2 separate regions of the Homo sapiens genome follow, and region 1 is linked to region 2. Evidence: promoter capture Hi-C in human tissues and cell types (Jung and others, 2019). All regions are on one chromosome and are shown on one strand. The core of a region is centred on a gene start or on the middle of the fragment in contact, and the rest is flanking DNA. Distances in the headings are between cores, read along the strand shown. Region 1 has its middle 210 kb from the start of CLIC5. Region 2 holds the start of SUPT3H (SPT3 homolog, SAGA and STAGA complex component).

Region 1 (7,030 bases), core at 1,441-3,940, 430 kb after region 2:
CATGTGGGTTTGAAGGGAGAGGAGGAAAAGGCCTAGGCAGACTCACACTTGGGGTTTTGCTGATCCTTCGATGAGTGAAACGTAGATTTGAGGGGGCATCAACTGCCAGCACCAGGAGGATGTGGCCGGGCCTGTGAGTATCATTGTCATTGTTGTTCTGATCATTATTGATGATGCATGTGGCCGTTTAGAACCTAGCAGGGTCTCTTTATCTTTCTTATGCTTGTTGCTCAGACCATCCATCCCTATGAAGGGAACTTCCCAGCACAGTGAGGTGTTAATGGCAAGACTGGGCTTAGGACCGAGAACTTACACTTGCTTTGCCACTGAAGGATGATTTGTCTCTCCAAAGTTATGAGAAGACAATGTATAAAAATAGCCCTTATGGTGCTTAAAAAGGGATTTTTGAAAGATTTTATGGGAGGCTTTCCAGCATAAAATATGCCTACCTTCTGTCACTCAAGAAGCCCAATGGTTTCTCAATGTATTATGGAAGTAAAGGAATTTCAAAGGAGCAGAAGTATATTGATGGAAAGATTAAGTAATGTCCTGGTAGTTGTACTAAATGGTCTTGAAAACTCCTCCCAATATCCTTCATTCACCTACCACCAAATCTTCAAACCTTCCTGCAGCTTTTCCTTTCTATCTTTCAAGGGAGAAAATGTTGTTTACTCCATCAGAGGTCAATGCCTCTACCTGTGCTCTGGACCTGGGCTGTCCAATATGGTAGCCAGCGGCCACATGTGACTATTCGCACTTGAAATGTATCCAGTCTGAGTGGAAATATGCTATAAGTGTAAAATAGGATAAAAATGAATGTAAAATATCTCATTCATAATTTCTTACATTGATTACATGCTGAAAGGGTAATATTTTGAATATTTTGTGTGGGGCATAATATGTTATCGAAATTAATTTCACTTCTTTGTTTTTACTTTTGCTAACATATTTACCTAGATAATTAAAATTACATATATGGCTTGCATTGTGCTCTAGATGCAACATTCCCTGGGGGCTCAGGAATATTACTCTTCTAATATTGTCATTTCTTTCCCATATCTTCAACCCATCACTGTTGTGTGGATCATTGTGTTAGCTTTCCACTTGGGCAAATGGCTCTCCAAACAAAAGCAAACTAAATCCTCCCTTGACCTCATCACCCTCACTAGTTTCCACCCTCTCCCATATACCGTCATTAGCCAAGCTTCCTGAAAGCACTGCCTACACAGTCTGCCTCCGCTTCCTCATTAGCCCATCTCAGTCTGTATTCTCCTCACCGCAAGCCAAAACCTGCTATTGCTAAAGTGATACATTGTCTCTCCAGTGCAAAATCCAAAGGGTACATCTTTCCTGACCATCTCTGCAGTGTTTGACATAATCGATCACTCCCTGCTTCTTAAAAGTCTCTTCTCTTGGCCTTCACCTTGGGTGCCTGGCTCCCCTGCTCTCTCTGGCCATTTCTGCTCATCCTTTTTGTTGGACTTACATCTTTCACACCACCTCTAAATGCTGGGGCACCTTAGGCTTTCACCCTGGTCTTTTTCTCACAATATATTCTTTCCTTAGACAACCTCTTCTAATCTTATGAGTTTAAACATCATTTATGCCGAAAACTCCCAATCTAAAGACACCAACTGCAGACATGGAAATACCCAGACCTCTCTTCTGCACTCCACACTCACATCTAAGTGCCGAATTGACTCACATCTAAGTGCCAAATTGACTCTTAATTTAGGACTCTCTGAAACATCCCAAACTTACATCCAAAAAAGAAGTTGTAGGCTTCTCCTCCAAAGTTTGTTCTCTTTCATCTCAGGAAAGGTTATCCCCATTCACTCAAGTTCTCATGTCAGAAACCTGACAGTTTATCCTTAATTCTTACACCTCCTTCAGTATACAAATATCACCAAGTATTCTCAATTACACCTCCAAAATGTGTCTCAAATCCATCAGCTTCTCTCCACACCCTGAGGAAGGGTCCATCCTTTCTTCCTGGACTACTGCTAGTGTCTCTTAACTAATCTCCTTGCTATTGCTCCCACAATCTGCTCTTCATATTGTAGCCAGACTGACCTTTAAAAACAAGAATTGGACCATGTTACTCTCCTGCTTAAAAACCCCTGATGGTTCTCCATGGACTTAGAATAAAACCCAGAGTCTTTAATGTAACATGCAAGAGCCCACATGTTGAACCTGTTGGCCACGGCTACACTCTGGTGGCATTGCCCCCACTCACACACACACACTGGCCCTCCTGGAGCCACATTGGCCCTTCATGTCCTTGCAGCTATAGTATGAGTCCTGCCTGAGGGATTGCACATATGATAGCCCCTTTCTTCACCTAACTTACTCTTCCAGCATCCTTCACTTCCTTCAAGAGGGATTCTATGATTCCTGCAGCCTAAATTAATCCTTACCACACCCCATTAGTGTCTCCTATAGTGCTTTGTACTTTTTCTTCATAGCACTTCTCACAATTATGCAATTATATGCTATATCTACATCTCTTCCCCAATAGTTTAAAGCTTCCAAACTGGGCTGCATCTTACAAACTATGTGTGCCTGTGATGAAGTTGTATTTCTTACAATTGATAATGTCTTAGATCAAAGAAACAAGGCATTTATCTGTGCTTATTTGTTAGTATCTGTTTCTTCCACTTGGCTCTAGCCATGTGTGGGCAGGGACTATGTCTCCTTGGTTGTCCCTCATATTCCCCAAGCTGCCAGGACTGTGCTACACAGGAGGTATTGTATGAACATTTGTGGAATGAATGATTGAATGAAGGAAGGAGGGAAGGCAGGATATGCACACTGTGTTGTGGCCACTGCAGCCTCCTATTCTCTCCAAATGTGTCTCCTACTATTCAAGTCCATAGGCTGTGCACTCAGTAGAGGAATAACTGCTCCATGCCCTCTTCTTTTGATTTTGTCTTTCCTATTCCAACACATACACTAAGACTGAACATGATTTCCAGCTCCTCTAAGAGGACTTCTCCCAAAATAATGAACTTTGCTTAACTTCCTGAGTTAGAACCCAATCAGATCTTGTCCAAGATGTCTTTTTTACAGGAAATATTATAGCCCCAGGGAGGAGACACACCTGGGTTCAAATCTCAGCTTTCTACCTGTGTGAGCTTTAGTGTAATATTCAGTTTTCTATTCTATAAAGTGGGAATAGTAACAGAAAACCTACCTCAAGGGGTTGTGGAAGGATTGAACAGGATATTGAGAGTAGGGTGTCCAGCTAGCATAAGAGCATTAGTGAATGCAAGTTATGATTATTATTTGATCTATGTATTCTTAATTGTCATGGTATTTTTAGGGCTCAAAGGAAAGGACCATAAGTTAAAATCCCTCATATTCCTACTGAGCGAAGTTTATTGCTTGTTTTGGAGATATATAAGATGCATCAATTTTATTAAAGCTCCCTTTCAGCCAATAATTGCTGTCTGTGGTCATTTCTGTTTGGCAGAAGCCTCCTTCACACATTGGCCAGAAAGTCTAACAGCCATCCCACCATAAACTCTCTCTTGCTCGTTGCCCATCCATCTTACCTAGCCTCCTTCTACCTACTACAATATAGTGGAAAGACTCATAAGGCAGGTAGTGTCAGAGCCAGATCTTGAACCCAAGATCATGGTTCATGTATTAGTCTGTTTTCACACTGCTGATAAAGACATACCTGAGACTAGGCAATTTACAAAAGAAAGAGGTTTAATTGGACTTACAGTTCCACATGGCTAGGGAGGCTTCACAATCATGGTGGAAGGAAAGGAGGAGCAAGTCATGTCTTACATGGATGGCAGCAGGCAAAGAGAGAGCTTCCGTAGAGAAACTCCTGTTTTAAAAACCTCTTGAGACCAATTCACTATCATGAGAACAGTATGGGAAAGACCTGCCCCCCATGATTCAATCATCTCCCACCGAGTCTCTTCCACAACATGCGGGAATTATGGGAGCTATGAGATGAGATTTGGGTGGGGACACAGAGCCAAACCATATCAGTTAGTGTTACATGTTGTTCACTCTCCTGCTTCCTATGCTCACTCTTTATTTTTTCCTTACTGTTAGAAAGTAGGGAGCTAGAATTTGAACTTAAGTCTCTCATAATTTTTTAGATTGAGTAGGCAAGGAAGATCTCAAAACAGGTGATACTTAAGCTACTATCAGAGTGACAGGAAGGAACCAGGCATGAGAAGATCAGAAGACAGAGCAGAGAGAATTGCAAGTGCAAAGGTCCTGGGGTGGGAATGAACTTGGTGTACTTGAGGAACAGAAAACAGACAAGTAAGGTGGAGTTGACAGAGGCTGTGTGAGCCTGCACTCGGGGTCACTGGCTGTGGGTTTGAGAGAGGAAGTTGTCAGCTTGAGCTAGATGATGTCAATAGAGATGCAGAGAAGTAGATTTGTTTGAAATGTACTTTGGAGATAGAATCAACAATACTGGCAGTAGATTGGTGGTAAGAGAAGGGTAGGCTCAAGGGTGACTCTCAGTTGGGTCTGGCTTGAGCAACTGGGTGGATGGTGATGCCATGTACTGGGATGACGAATACTTGAAGAAATAGATTTGAGCATATGTTTGTGATCTCTCTGGGATACATCAGTGATGCCAGACAAGTAACTGAATATGCTAGTCTCAAGTTCAAACACAAAGTTAGAAACTAGAGATGCATGTTTTAGAGTCATCAGTTTATAGATGGCATTGAGAGCCATAGGAACAGATGAGAATGTCTAGGGAAGGAGGATAGAGAGAAACAAGAAGAAGGCCCCGGAGAGAACACTGACATGATTGGTAGGTGAGTAAGAGGAATGGAACTAGGGAAGGAATGGCCAGAAAGGAAAAGTAAAACAAGGAGAGGATGGGTTTCACACCAAATCTAGGAGGAAATCATGTTTCAAGAAGAAGGGATCAGTCTTGTGTCAAATGCTACTACAAAGGTGATGGAGACGGATTAAAAAAAATGTGTCTATGGAATCTGGCTTCATGAAAGGTTGTGGATGACTCTGACAAGAGAAGTGTAGGTAGAGTGAAGGGAAGTGACAGATTGCCTGCATAGCTAATATTTTTAAAGAACTTATTTTAAGGAATAACAAAGAAATGGGAATATGAGTCAAGAGGTCCTTTTAGTAGATGGGAGACAGGAGGGGCTGTTTTCTGATGAGAATGATCTAGAAGTAGAGAGATATATGACACAGGAAAGACTAAGACCCACATCTCTCCCTTCTCTAAAACTGGTGCCTTTAGTACTTATTTGCAGAGTCACAGTCCCTGTGGCCTTTGCTTGCTTCTCCTCCATATTGAAATTAGCTTGGAGAGGGTGCATTGATTCCTTCAGATCAAATGAGAGTCTCTTTTTGTTTCTCTTTGCCTAGACATTCATGTGACCTTCACAGACAAGTGTTTACTGGAGTTACTCAGAACTGAGCAAGGACAGCTTTGGTCTGATAAAAGCACACTCCCCACACTGGCTCAGAACCCTCAACCTTCCCTTTGAACACAATATAAATGCTACTGTGGACCTCAGAGGTTAATCCATTACAACAAGGCAATTAAATTTAGGGTCTGTTTGGAAGATAAAAAGCAGCAAGTAATAACCAGGTCAGAAAACTCAGCCATGATGGATTTCTATAATTTCCTCTGACTTCACGGAGCTGCGTCTGGTGACCTGAAGCAGGATGGTGTGACTGCCCGGTGGTGTCAGAAATGTGAGGGGGAGATTATTTTTATTAAACTAGTTATTTCTGAGGCATTGACCTCTCTTGCTTCCCCTTTCTCTCTCAAGAAGGTCATTTGCCAGCTGGTAATACATTTAACCCTTAAGCATACAGTCAACCTCAGGTTAGCAAGGAGGATCATTTTACAAAGGCAAGCGAATGAAACTGATGTTTCTCCTGGTTAGTGTTCTGAGTTTTGAATTTGGGCTACTTCCCCCTTTCTTGTTAAGCCACTTTGGTTTAAGTGCCTAACCTTCTCTGGTGGATTTTGTATAGATTTTCCAGTAATAAGATGGTTAGTTTGTCCTCATCTAGAGTGCTTTACCCATGAGAAAGAAGAGAAAATTGCTCTATGTCAGACTGGAGCTGGGATGAGAACCCTCAGGCCCTGATTTATTGCTCTTCAGCTTTGTTCCCTCCACTTCTGTCTCACACAGCGTGTGGTCATCCTGAATCATTCGTGCCACAAATGTTTCTGGACACCCACTCTGCCTGTGACACTGCACTAGGCACCATGGCAGAGTGTTTGACTACATGGCCCCTGCCCTCTGGGAACTGGTTCCTGCTCTATTTCAGCGGGGAGTGCAAGGAGGTTGCTGACACAGTCATTTTAGGGGTTTGTTTTCTCTGCGCCAAATTGCCCTGTCTCATTAATGACAGGCTCAATTTCCATCAGGTTCCTTGATGAATCTTGCAAAACATCCAAGAGGGAGCTTCCTTCCAGTGCAGAAATGTAATTCCCTGTGGATATGTGTTGGCATCCGCCAACTCAGAGGCATAATGAAGTTAATTTTGAGGGAAAGCAAACACAAATATAACGGTGATCGGAAGAGCAGCCACAACTGTCTGAGCCATTTATTTAATGGACTAATTAGCTTATTAAGTACTTTGCACTGTCTTCTTTTCCACAAAGGATTTAAAGAGATGATTGTCTGGCTCAAAGGACTGGTTTTGGATTTGTGATCAGGACACTGAGTTCGAGTCCCAGTTCTGATCATCTGAGCTCTGCCTCTAGCTCAGCCTGTATGGCCCCAGTGTCATTAAACCATTTGTCTTATCTACTTTATGGGACTGATGGGAGGATAAAATGAGATAATAATACACATGAAAGAACCTTGTTAAAGAATAAAGCGCTATGCACATGTTAGTTATTATTTCAGAAACCAAAGTTAACAAGAGATAAAAATCTTAAATCTGGGAGGAATTTTTCTATGGAGCTAGTTGGCAGGTCACTTCTTTTTCTCATTTCTTCTTTGTTTGCATCTCAGAGAATTAGCAACCAGATAGGAAGGAAATGCCATTATTAGAATGTGGG
Region 2 (7,355 bases), core at 4,197-6,696:
AAAACCACTATAGCATTTAAATCAGCAAAAGTACATTTCAAGATTTTTTAATGATTTATATTTGTATGTTATTTTAGTTTATAAAGTATATTCACATAAATTGTTTCAATTTACTGTCCTGTGAATTCAACAGCATCTTTTCAGTAACTCCTACATACCATACACCAAACAGAGTACTATTTTCTTTTTGAGACAGGGTCTCTCTCTGTTGCTCAGGATGGAGTACAGTGGCACAATCTCAGCTCAGTGCAATCTCCACCTCCTGGGCTCAAGCAATCCTCCCACCTCAGCCTCCCAAGCAGTTGGTACTACAGGCACAAACCACCAAGCTCAGCTACATTTTTTTTTGAGATGGAGTTTTGCTCTGTCACCCAGGCTGTAGTGTAATGGCACAATCTTGGCTCACTGCAACCTCCGCCTCCAGGGTTCAAGCGATTCTGATGTCTCAGCCTCCCAAGTAGCAGGTGCACGCCAAGACACGCGGCTAATTTTTGTATTTTTAGTAGACAGAGTTTCACCATGTTGGCCAGGCTGGTCTCAAACTCCTGACCTCAGGCGATCCACCTGCCTCGGCCTCCCAAAGTGCTGGGATTACAGTTGTGAGTCACCGCACCCGGCCCAGCTAATTTTTGTTTTAAATTTTTTCTAGAGACCAGGTCTCACTATATTGCCCATCACTCTTAGGCTCAAGCAACCCGGGCCTGTCTTGGCCTCCCAAAGTGCTGGTATTACAGGCATGAAGTCACAGAGCCGGCCACGATTTTCATGTTCATTATCTTATTTAACCTTCACTACCCATTAACTATGGGCCAGGTATTTTCAGAGGGAGAACTACAGTACAAAAAAGCCTCACAGACCAATTCTAGAAAGTAAGAGCCTCATTAGTATAACCTATTAGGTGGGAATATGTTTGGATAAATGAGATACAACGGAAGGAACACATCAAGTGCCCAAGAAAATGTTGGTTCTCCCTTAGCAGTAGTATGGGGTTGTTTTCCGTAGAAAATATATTGTGACCAGATCAAAAAAGCACCATTACTGTGACTTAAAATATTATTTGTGTGTGTGTGTGTGTGGTTTTTGAGACAGAGTATTGCTCTGTCGCCCAGGCTGGAGTGCAGTGCACGATCTCGGCTCACTGCAACCTCCGCCTCCCGGGTTCAAGCGATTCTCCTGCCTCAGCCTCCTGAGTACCTGGGACTACAGGCATGCACCACCATGCCCGGCTAATTTTTTTGTAATTTTAGTAGAGACGGGGTTTCGCCATGTTGGCCAGTCTGGTCTCCAACTCCTGACATCAAGTGATCCACCCATCTCAGCCTCCCAAAGTGCTGGGATTACAGGTGTGAGCCACCACACCCAGCCTGTGACTTACAATATTATTTGTAAAAGAGAACTGTCTTCAGTAATAGTGCCTATTATACACTATCCATGCTGTTACACAAAATTTACACAACAATTTTTGCAGGTCACTCTTTAGTGGAGGCTGAAGGTAGACAAGATGAGACAAAACCAATTCAATATAAAAATGTTTGTAAAGTAAGACGATAATTTTTAAATGTAATTCTCATTTGATGCCACCAACAGTCCTATGAGAAAGCGGGATGAGGATGGGTACTAATTCCATTTTACTGATAAGGAAATTGAGGCTCTGATATTAATAAGTTAAATACCTTAACTGAAATGACAAAAGAATGTGCCAGAAAAGGGCAAAAGCTAGGTTTACAGAATTGGGTCTTAGTGCTCTGTTCACCAACCCACATAACATCTCAGAACATTATTATCACTTCTAGATTATCCAATAAACTTAAGGCTACAGCAGCTAACAGTTACTGAACTGCACACAACCCATCACATGAGTTATTTAAATTAACCTCTTATGAACCTAGAAGCAGATGCCATTACCATCTTCATTTTATAAATGAGGAACCCAGTATTCTTAGGAAGATTAAATAATTTGTCCCAAATCACATGGTTAGGAAGCAGCAGAGCGAGAACTCAAATCAAGTGTTAGAGCCTCAATAAAATATTTTACCCACTTCAGTATAAACTTAATATAATAATGCATATGGCTGAATTATTTTTCATTAAGTAAACTGTAAGCAAAACCCTTCTTTAACATTCTAATACATAATCAGATTTCTGACGGATTTCACTATTCAACCTCACCATAAAATAAAATCAGTGTTATTTCAACACAAATACTCAATCACCTGATTTGACTGACATAGACTACCATGCAGTCACCCCCACCAAAAGATGATTTTCTTCCAGAGGGAACCAAAACTCAAGCTGCTAAAGGTTTATATTCAAAGCAAAATTTTAAAATTATCAGTGGCTTAAATGGGAAAGTCACTTGCTGGCCTTATTCCAGGTATCTTATTTATTATTTAGACACAAAAACAGTAATTTTGTCACTGTTTTAAAGTATATTTCTGGCCGGGCACGGTGGCTCACACCTGTAATCCCAGAACTTTGGGAGGCTGAGGCGGGTGGAGCACTTGAGATCAAGAGTTCAAAACCAGCCTGGCCAACATAGTGAAACTCTGTCTCTACAAAAAATACAAAAATTAGCCAGGCATGCTGGCATGTGCCTGTAATCCCAGCTACTCGGGAGGCTGAGGCAGGAGAATCGCTTGAACCCAGGAGGGGGAGGTTGCAGTGAGCTGAGATCGCACCATTGTACTCCAATCTGGGCAACAAGAGTGAAACTCCATCTCAAAAATAATAAAGTATTTCTGATATTGCAATGTGGTTAATCATCCTAAAACTATATATTACAAGTCCCAACAAGGCTAACAGTAGGGTGACATTATGATGTGGTCCCAATTCGAACATTTTGATAGTGAAAGGGGTTCTATTAAATAAAATAATTGTGCTGGAACAATCAGGCTTTATACTACGACTGTCTCAGAAAAATTAAGATACTATAGTCACCCATAAAAGCACCCCATTCTGATTTGTATATTATGAGCTATTCTCTCCATCTGATTTAACTCGTGAGCTTTAAGTTATTGCTCCAGATCTAACAATTATCTTCAGCCTTAAGACCAAGAGCATCATTTTTTTTTTTAAAGAGACAAGGTCTCCCTCTGCAGCCCAGGCTGGAAGCCTGGCCTGACCATGATTCACTGCAGCCTTGAACTCCTAGGTTCAAGAGATCCTCTGGCCTCAGCCTCCCAAAGTGCTGGGATTACAAGCATGAGCCAACGTGCCTGGCCCAAGGGCACCATTTTACAGACATCAGGCCAAGGTTAAGGGTGCTACCGCTACCTATAAAGGTTTTTTATTTGTTCTTTTAGTTTTATTTTCAAATTTGACTTTATATACACTTGCTTTAAAAAAAAAAAACAGATGCACATATTTCAAGTAAAGTAATTTTGTGAAACATCTATTACCTAATTTCACTTATCTCTCCAAAAGATTTGGATAACCATAAAACTAGTTCTAAAATGTCCTAATGCTCAAGAGTTACAATTTTTCAAATCGCTTTATTACACAAAAGGTTAAAAAAGAAAAAAACTTGAATAAGAGCTGGAAACTTCTCACTGAAAAACCAACCAAAGTGGTAAAAGATAGCAGAAACCGACAATCACAAAATAGTACAATAATGTTTAAAGAAAACTCCAGTTAATACTGTCATAGCTCTCTGAATCTGGCATTAGCTGTACAACCTAGGAGACAACGTTTTGCTTTAATTTGTCAAGATGTAAATAAGTACTAACAGACCCATGGTCTGAACTGCAGTATTTGAATGAAAGGCATTATTTGAATATAATTACAATTCCCTATGGCAATAAATGTTCCAAAGAGCTGGCTTATCTGATTTAAAACTCAACCATATCAAGACTCGGAAGGACTCTCAAAATCTAAATTGTAGCCCTGTGCTGTCCAATGCAGTAGCTACCACTAGCCACATGTGGGTATTTAAACGTAAATCAATTTATTAATTTATGAATAAAATTAAAAATTAAGTTCCTCAGTGACACTTATCACATTTCAAGTGCTGAAGAGCCACTGTGCCTAGGCTACCACTAGTGCCTAAAGGCACAGATTATGGAACATCTCCATCAAGGCAGAAACTGCTAGTGAAAAGTGCAGCCCTAGACTTAGGCATACTTCGCTCCAACGTCCCGAATATCCTGAGATAAGAAACTTTCCATAGCACAATGAAGAGCATTCCATTCTTGCAAAGTACTCTCACGAACTGTTTCTCATAGGCAAATTCAGCCTCTTTGAAACATTCACCAGAAATTCCCCAAGTTTTGTCCTTCAAGTAAATCTTTGCAGGGCGAATTTAATTCCTCTTCCAGAGTCTGCCCTTCACATATACTAAGACCCCAGGTCCTCTCCTTCCAAATACATACATACATATATACACATACATATACTTATATACACACATATGTATATACATATATATACACACACATTTCTTTCTACCGAAATAACTTAACATTTCTATTAGCCTCTTGGAGAAATGCTAATTTATCCACGTGTACAGTAATACTACGTCCAGGATCGTCTGAGTGTCAAATATTACATATCACTGTCTTCATAACTTCACTCTCACGTGTGAGACCAAGTGTCCTGATTCTCTGAGAAAATAAGGTCACAGTCATTCTGAACTCCTAAAACGTGGAGAGCAAAAGCAGAGCTAATATGTACTGAGCAGCACCTGGCGCTGTTCTAAGCGTTTAACGTGTATTTTCTCATATAATCCTCACAATTCTGAAATAGGCTATAAGATCGCCATTTTACAGACCAAAACAAGGCAAAGACAAGCTAAATAATTTCCCCAGGGGTCACAGACGTGAGCTCACCCCACAGAGAACACAGCGGATCTTTTCCTCTTTCTGGATGCTACACTCCCACTAACTACCTAACTCTTCTCTCGCCGTGCCATAAAGCAACAATTTCCCTCTTTAATGATTCCTCCGGCAGCCCCCACACTACCTAGACGACCCGCGCACCCCGCTTCTCAGCACAGCCCAGCCCCCCTCACCCCACGCCCACCCGCCAAAAGGGAGGAGTCGAGAGGCAACTCCACGCTCGGCAGCGGAACCAGGGCGCTGCGCCCGGCCAGCGCCTCCCACAGCCGCCCTCCCTTCAACACTCCGGCGTAGACCACGAAGACCCAGGCAGCCGCCCTCGAGCCGGGGCCAGGGCGTGGCCGGCGCGGGGGCCCAGCGACGCTGGGATCTCCGCTCTGCGTCCCTCCCGGCTCTCTGACGTCTCCCCCGCCCGAATCCCCGCACCGCCCCCCGCAAGCCCTACAACCTCTGCTTTAAGAACCCTTGGAGGCACTGCTGCGCTTCCCGCGAGGAGAATGTGGGGGTGGAGATGGTGCGGTTTCTGCTGCTGCGGCCCGGGACACGCTTGGAAAGGGGCGGGGTGGGGGACTGAGAGTGTGGAGTGTAGAAAGGGAAAAGGTGACTCGGCTGTGTGACGGGGCGATGGGGGGGGTACAAGATGGCGTGAGCCCGACTCTCGGTGGGGCGGGGGTTGCGGAGACTGAGGAGTAAGCGATACGGACGCCCCCCGCACTGGCAGTGCGGGCGCATGCGCGCTTGGCCAGGTGGCGCGCGCTCTCCCAGCCCGAGCGAGCTACTTCCGCCACGCTCGCCGGGGGCGGGGCGTTGTGCGCGGCCTTCAGGGCCCGGCTTGGGCAGCGCTGAGCCACGCGGCGGCGTTTAGAGCTGGGGACGCTGGGAGCGGAGTGGGGACGAGCTGAGATCGGTCAGGGTGTACAGGGTGCAGGCTTGAATTCTTTAGGAATTGGGCCCGAGAGGGCTAGGATTTTTGAAGGATTGGGTGACCGGCACTGGAAGTTGATTTTCAACTCCGAGGAAGAGATTCACCGTTCTAAGCTTCTTTCCAGGAATTGGAGTGAACGGGATCTTAATGGGATTGCGCGTTTACAATGGTGAAGGGAAACGGAGGGGTCTGAACGCTCCCCGCAGGGCCGCAGTACAGGCGTGTGGATGTGGAACCCTTTCTGGGACGGCGAAACCAGCTCTTACGCCGCTTCCGCGCGCCATCACTCCCTACCCTGACCTCGCACAGAATCTGTTTCATTAATCTGCTATTAATGTTTTTTCCCCAACTCATGTTACTAGACGCAGGCGTTTAACTACCATGTTTTGTTATTGAAAACTTTTTCTACTTGAAGGCTTTTTTTTTTTTTTGGACGATTCTGTGTTTAGATTTTGGCCTGTTCCTCATTTTAAAATCTTGCACCCCCAGTATTGTACTGTACATTCTGTCCTGCCACATTTAATTGATATAGATGTAGTTCTTTAAATAATACAGTAGTCGTAAGACAATGCTTTCAGTCTTTCACTCTTTATATTATATGAAGTCTTATTTATATTTAACATTCTTATTGCCTGCTTAGAGAAGAAAACTGGTTATCCATGCTCACCTTCACACCTGTGTTGTCAAATACTATAAAATACTGTATTTTATAGGGATTCAAGTATTAACCCTCACCAAGTCTTTTTAAGCATCACTGCTTCAGTTATTTTCTTGCCTATAGATACTGTGAGTTCTGAAATCCCTTCCTTCTATTTGCTTAAATTGTTTAAAATAGCAACTTATTTGGTTATTTCCTCTGTGGATTGTAGTTGAGTCTGCTAGTGTTGTGTTTGATTCTCTTTAATCTCCCCAACGCTTCAATATTTGCCAAATACCTAAAATTCCAAAAGAATAGATATATTTAGGATGTGAGAGCTCAGCTTGATGTGTAAATCAGGGATCAATTCATTGCTGAGCAAAGTGTGCAGTATAAGGGAAAGTAACAGAGTGAGTATGGTGATAACTTCTTACATGGGAAGACTGGTTGAAAGCTCTTTTGAGTACATTACCAAGAAATTAGTTAACAGAAGATTAAGAGAAAAATTAATGTTCACATCTAAAGAAACATAAAAGTAGATCATTTCAATTAAAATTATGTTCAGTTAATGTTATCATAGAAGTTCCTGCACTGGAGTTTCACCTGCATCAGATGAGTACCTGTTTGATCCAGTTTATCAGGATAGAATCCAGATCATCTTATTCTAGGATACTGGTGTCCAGCCTGCATAAAATCACACACAGGCCAGGCGCGGTGGCTCACGCCTGTAATCCCAGCACTTTGGGAGGCCGAGACGGGCAGATCACAAGGTCAGGAGATCGAAACCATCCTGGCCAACATGATGAAACCCCGTCTCTACTAAAAATACAAAAAAGTATCCGGGCGTGGTGGCACGTGCCTGTAGTCCCAGCTACTCGGGAGGCTGAGGCAGGAGAATCGCTTGAACCTGGGAGGCGGAGGTTGCAGGGAGCCGAGATCACGCCGCTGCTCTCCAGCCTGG

Evidence for each region. Contacts are between HindIII fragments. The study calls those that stand out against the background at their distance.
Region 1: a fragment that was not itself captured here is called in contact with the fragment with the promoter of SUPT3H in region 2 in 1 of the 25 tissues and cell types used here (stomach).

The regions. Positions count from the first base shown.
Region 1 is chr6:45,802,051-45,809,080 of GRCh38, forward strand. No RefSeq gene overlaps it. Among named protein-coding and RNA genes, the nearest start is that of CLIC5, 210 kb to the right of the region's middle. The HindIII fragment of the contact is 6,904 bases long and covers 1-6,142 here.
Region 2 is chr6:45,372,488-45,379,842 of GRCh38, forward strand. SUPT3H (SPT3 homolog, SAGA and STAGA complex component) reads right to left here and starts at 5,447. Exons shown (of 11, transcript NM_003599.4): 1 at 5,281-5,447. All of the region lies in intron 2 of RUNX2 (RUNX family transcription factor 2), which reads left to right. RefSeq lists silencers at 5,089-5,368, 5,689-5,738 and an enhancer at 5,379-5,922. The HindIII fragment of the contact is 12,283 bases long and covers 1-7,355 here.